Linked DNA regions of Homo sapiens: region 1 is linked to region 2. The links are contacts of gene promoters, found by promoter capture Hi-C in human tissues and cell types (Jung and others, 2019). All regions are on one chromosome and are shown on one strand. Each heading gives the region's core, a stretch centred on a gene start or on the middle of the fragment in contact. The rest is flanking DNA. Distances are from core to core; before and after follow the strand shown. Region 1 has its middle 93 kb from the start of LINC01734. Region 2 holds the start of SLC32A1 (solute carrier family 32 member 1).

Region 1 (2,700 bases), core at 153-2,652, 590 kb after region 2:
TGGAGTAAGTGCTCAGTAAATACTAGTGTTAATAGTGGCTACAGTTGTAATTTCTTTCCAGCTCCTTTTTCTCTTCTACACTAAGATCTTCAAGAGCTCAGGAAAATGCACCTGTTTTATTCACTTCTGGATTCTTACCATTGGCAGAGTGCCTGGCCCATAGTTGGGTTCCAATAAATATTTGTTTTTATGACTAACAAATCCATGTAATCTCTGTGACCAGCTAAGTTCTCTTCTCAGCTTTATTGTGTTTTCATTCAATACTCCCCATCCTCAGAAAGCTGATTCATTCTGGGACTTCAGCTCTTACATCCATCTAGTGGATTACTAAATTTGTATATCCATTCCCGGCTCACATGGATAAGGCTGGCTTACATGGATAAATACTGGAATTGACAGTATTTGATTATTTTTAACTTACAAAAACAACAATTTCATAAATTGTAATCTAATATTCCCTTAAACTTCCACTCAAATGTTATATTGTCACCTTCAACACAACATAGGTGTTGTGCACTTCTCTGCCTATTGACTGTTCCTCTTCCTGGCATTGTTTAATCGGAAAATGCTTTTAGAATAGAAAGCTATCACTCTGTCCAGTAGTATCTTTTTATCATTGAGATGAAAGACTGAGGTTACATTCTGCCTCTGCTACATTCAAGTCACTTGCCTCAAGATCACACAGCAGAATGGTAGCAGAGGCAGAATGTAACCTCAGTCTTCTGTCTCCTGTTCTGGTTCTAGGTCTATCAAGTGCATGGATTCTCCAGCTTCCCAAGTCTTGCATCTCCATCTTCCTCCTTCCCCTCATCTTCTGGCAATATTCAGTTACCCACCAAGTCCAGGAACTTCTTCCTTCAAAATATGTCGTGTTCATATATATGTTTCCCAACTCAAGGACCTATGGCTGCCATGTTAGTTCAGGCCAACCTCATCTCCCACTTGAATCCCCGCAGAAGTTCATTGTTAAACCTCTCTCCTGCTTTCTTACATAATACCTGCCTAAAGGTATATATGAAAGCTAAAGTTTCAAAAGTCACCAAATAGCTTTTAAAGTCTAAGGGCTGTTTGGTCCCAGAGAGAAAAATGATTTTAAAAAATTAAAATAGTACCATATCATTTAGACATAATGTTTTGATTACATATGTTCTATGATTTTATAATTTTTTGTTCAATAATTTCAGACTTACAGAAAAAATGTAAAAATGATACAAAAATTGCCTGTATGCCTTTACTCAAACTCCCCAAATGTTAGCATTTCTAATGTTTACCATTTTCTCTCTCTTTATACATTTTTATTATTATTTTTTCAAACCATTTTTGTGAGTAAGATGTGAACATGATGTCCCTTGGTCCTAAATATACTAGTGTGGATTTTCTGAAAACAAGGACTTTCTTTTACATAATCACAGAAACATTATCAAAATCTGGATATTAGCACTAATAAATACAATTGAACAATCTACAGACTTTATTTAAATTTAATCAGTGGTCACTTTAAAATCCTTTCTAGCAAAAAAAGTTTCTGATTTCTGATCCAAAAAAGGATAACTTGTTGCAATTTGTTGTCATGTTCTGTAGTCTCCTTTAGTCAGGAATAGTAATTCAGTCTTTCTTTGTCTTTAATTGACCTTGACATTTCTGAAGAGAGGCCATTTATTTTGTAGGCTGTTCTTCTATTTATGTGTATCCCATGGTGCCTCGTGATTATTTGTGTCTTTAACTTTTATGTCTCTTTAATTTTTAAATGAGTTAATATTTGTAAATTGCTTTAAGCAGTGCCTGGCACATAGCTCTATATAAATATTTGTTAAATACGCTTTGATCCTTTTCTTCACAGCCAAATATACAGTTGACCAATCTATGGCCAATGAGTACTTGAAATGGAAGATTTGTCATTTGGGGGAATTTCTAAGTATTTTCATCTTTGTTTCAACTGCTTTACCTGTCTGAAAACTATGTTTCTTATAGCTAATATCAGCATTTACATTTGTACCCCTTTCTGTACTTAATAACATAATAAAAACAAAACCAAATCTACCATTAGGTCATCCCACAGACCCTGGCCTGTGGATAGAGATATCATTGCTGCCCAAGTTGAGTTCTTGGCTGCTAGGCAGGGTCACCTGGTCCTTGGGTGCTCAAGAATCAAAACCTGGGCTATGCGTGTGCAGCATAATGGACTAAAAATGTGAGCTATCCAAATATTTTAAGAATAAAAGTGGAAGACTTTTCTGCAAATTATGGCGGCATTGGTATGGTATTCTATGAGGTATTTAATTTAATGTTCATTGCAGAATGGGATTTCACTCAATATTTTTTGTTTGTTGAATTACTTATTGCTTCCTTCCTGGCACAAACCTTGTGGGTCAGCAGACTGGACTCCTTGTGTCCTACTGGGAATGTGATGCATCACATCCCTGCTTCTGGGCTTTTGCTTCTATGGCTCCATCTGGATGGCCCTTCTCACATTTCCACCTGCTCTCCTGCTCAGGCCTCTTAAGCTCGACATAGCCCCACCTCTCCCGGGCCCTCCCTCCACATCTGTCTCTTCCTTCTCAGTCCCCTGCAGCATCTCTGCTCTGTATCACCCAGTCTGGCACTAAACAAGAGATAGATTTGATTCTGAATTAGCTGTTCCCTACCTCAAGCCCCATTCCCCCAAATGGGCTAGGAAGTCTTTGAAGTAGGTATAATTGG
Region 2 (2,700 bases), core at 30-2,529:
CTACAAAGGGACTAACACAGGCACGAACGCAGGCAACCCCATTCGGGAACACATACGTAATCCAACACACTAGCTCTGGCACACACACTGGAATGCGCGCAAAACCACACAGACACAGAACACACGCGGTTACCAAACCTCATTCTCAGAGGCCACACTGATCCAACCTCAAGCAGAGTCTGATACAGCATCGGTCTTTGTCTCTGGGTCTCTCCCTTACTCGCGCTCACACACCCGTACCCCAATCAACACAAACAGCCCAAGCTTTCACAGCCTGGAGGCGGCCGTCGGAGCAGGGCCCCAGCGCACCGCGAGCCTCTGCTTCCTCCGCCTTGCAGCGCCGCGAGCCCTTCTTTCCTCCGCGCCTGGCCCCGTCTGCGCCCCTCTCGGCGTGGGCATTCGCAGACCCGCTAGGAGGCTGACGAGAGGTGTCCTCATAGAGTCCTGCCTTCTTCCAGACCCCCAAACGAAAAGAAAGAGAAAAGCCAACCTTTCGCCTCCATTCTGCACGCATTTGGAGAGCGGCTGGTGGCGAGCGATCCGCACAATCGCTTCCCTCGCGGCGTCCCTGGACGGGCGGAGAGAACCCGGGTGACTGAGCCTGAGGCTGAGCTTCCTTGGGAGCGATCCATGCCAGCCACTTCTACCTTCAAGGGGGACTCGCGGCCGGGTTTACGCGCGAAGGATGGGTGCCAGGGAAACTGACTTATAGACGACCCGCTCCGCGAGAGACTGACAACTCAGTCCTGCGGGCTTTCGGGGCGCCCAGACCAGTCCTTAGCCAGAGGATCTGGGGCTGCACAGCTCCCGGACCCTGGAGGGGGTGGTCCGGGGGTGGGAGACTGCGAGCATCAGCCCACGCCGGCCCCCTCCCACCCTGCGGCGGCGAGGTGGGAAGGGCCAGGATGCGAGCTTAGCACCTCCCCTAGAAATGCAGCACTTCGCCCCCCCACCTCCCCTGCCCTCGGCGCTCCCTCTTTCACGCGCTCCCTCCCGCCTCCTTCCCAAGGGCGCCCTTCTTCTGCCCCCAGCTCACGTCTGAATCCCTCGGCGCCCCCTTTCTCTTCTCCTAGCCCCTTCCTCACGTCCCCTGCCTCCGGGTATTTCCTCTCTCCAATCCCCCACCCCCGCACCGCCTGATTCCGAGGGGCGGGAGCGCATTGGGCTGCGCACGGGTGGGGGCGCCGCGCCAGCTTCGCGTAGCTGCTCTGACGCCGCTGCCGCCGCCGCCGCCGCCGCCGCCCTCCGCAGCCCAGCTCGCGCCCCGCGGCAGCTCCGCAGTGCACTAGCCACCACCGCCGCCGCCGCCGCTCCGCCAGACCTGCTGCCAGCTTGCCCGGTCCAGCCCTGAGAGAGCCTCGAACGCCAGCTGCGAGGGTCATGAGCCAGAGAGCCCCGGGGCGCCGCGCGGAGAGCAAGCGGAGATAGCGACTTTGCGCCCCCCAGCCCTCGCCTTCTTGCATCGCGTTCCCCGCATCCTCGGGTCCTTCTGTCCTTTCCGCTGTCCCCACCGCCGCCATGGCCACCTTGCTCCGCAGCAAGCTGTCCAACGTGGCCACGTCCGTGTCCAACAAGTCCCAGGCCAAGATGAGCGGCATGTTCGCCAGGATGGGTTTTCAGGCGGCCACGGATGAGGAGGCGGTGGGCTTCGCGCATTGCGACGACCTCGACTTTGAGCACCGCCAGGGCCTGCAGATGGACATCCTGAAAGCCGAGGGAGAGCCCTGCGGGGACGAGGGCGCTGAAGCGCCCGTCGAGGGAGACATCCATTATCAGCGAGGCAGCGGAGCTCCTCTGCCGCCCTCCGGCTCCAAGGACCAGGTGGGAGGTGGTGGCGAATTCGGGGGCCACGACAAGCCCAAAATCACGGCGTGGGAGGCAGGCTGGAACGTGACCAACGCCATCCAGGTAAGCGCGGGATTCCCAGTTCTGCCTGTCCTCCCCCCTCCCAGCTCAGCGTGCCGGGCTCTGCCCCCGACAGTCGCCCGGTGATCTCGGCCTGGAGACCCCCTCCTGTACCCAGGAATCTCCCTTTCTCCATCCCTCCCAGCCCTGCGCGGGGACCTACGCCCCCAGGCGGTGTTTTCCGCCCTAACCCACGCTCCCTCCCAACGGCACCAGCTGCAAGACCGCTAGGCTGAAGTTCGGTCTGAGACACCTGTCCGGAGACACTGCAAAAGTGAAGGAAATGGGGGGAGGGAGCAGGAAGCGATGAGAAAGAAAGAAAATCAGGATTGGAGGGCACGGTTTGGTCTTGGACTCTGGAACGGATTCACAGCTGCATTTTTGGGAGGAAAGAAGAAGGGGAAATCGCTGAGGTCGGAGTCTCCTCCCCCCGCACACACGCATAGACACGCACACGTATATAGGCAGGCACACCACATGCCCACAGCCCCCCTTCCCACGAACAAAGGCGCAGGCACAGGCGCACACGACATGTATCTATATATAGACCACAGTACTATCCCCAAATGCACCTGCGTACACCCCTACAGCTCCACAAACAAAAGCATATACCTGCACATACCAAACACACGAATATTCGTTTGAACATATGCACACACACATGCACAGATGCATGCAGACAGGAACCAGCCTGCTCCCTTGGGTGCGGCCCTGTTGGAGACATACAGGTATACACACACGAAAGCACACACATGCTCCCACACAAACACATTTAGTCCGCAATAATCCAGCATT

Evidence for each region. The method cuts DNA at HindIII sites, captures the fragments that hold promoters and counts their contacts. A contact is called where the count stands out against the background at its distance.
Region 1: a fragment that was not itself captured here is called in contact with the fragment with the promoter of SLC32A1 in region 2 in 1 of the 25 tissues and cell types used here (lymphoblastoid cells).

Annotation. Positions count from the first base shown.
Region 1 is chr20:39,316,594-39,319,293 of GRCh38, forward strand. No RefSeq gene overlaps it. Among named protein-coding and RNA genes, the nearest start is that of LINC01734, 93 kb to the left of the region's middle. The HindIII fragment of the contact is 7,480 bases long and covers 1-2,700 here.
Region 2 is chr20:38,723,207-38,725,906 of GRCh38, forward strand. It overlaps SLC32A1 (solute carrier family 32 member 1), which reads left to right and starts at 1,280. Exons shown (of 2, transcript NM_080552.3): 1 at 1,280-1,908. The coding sequence starts at 1,519. The HindIII fragment of the contact is 7,924 bases long and covers 1-2,700 here.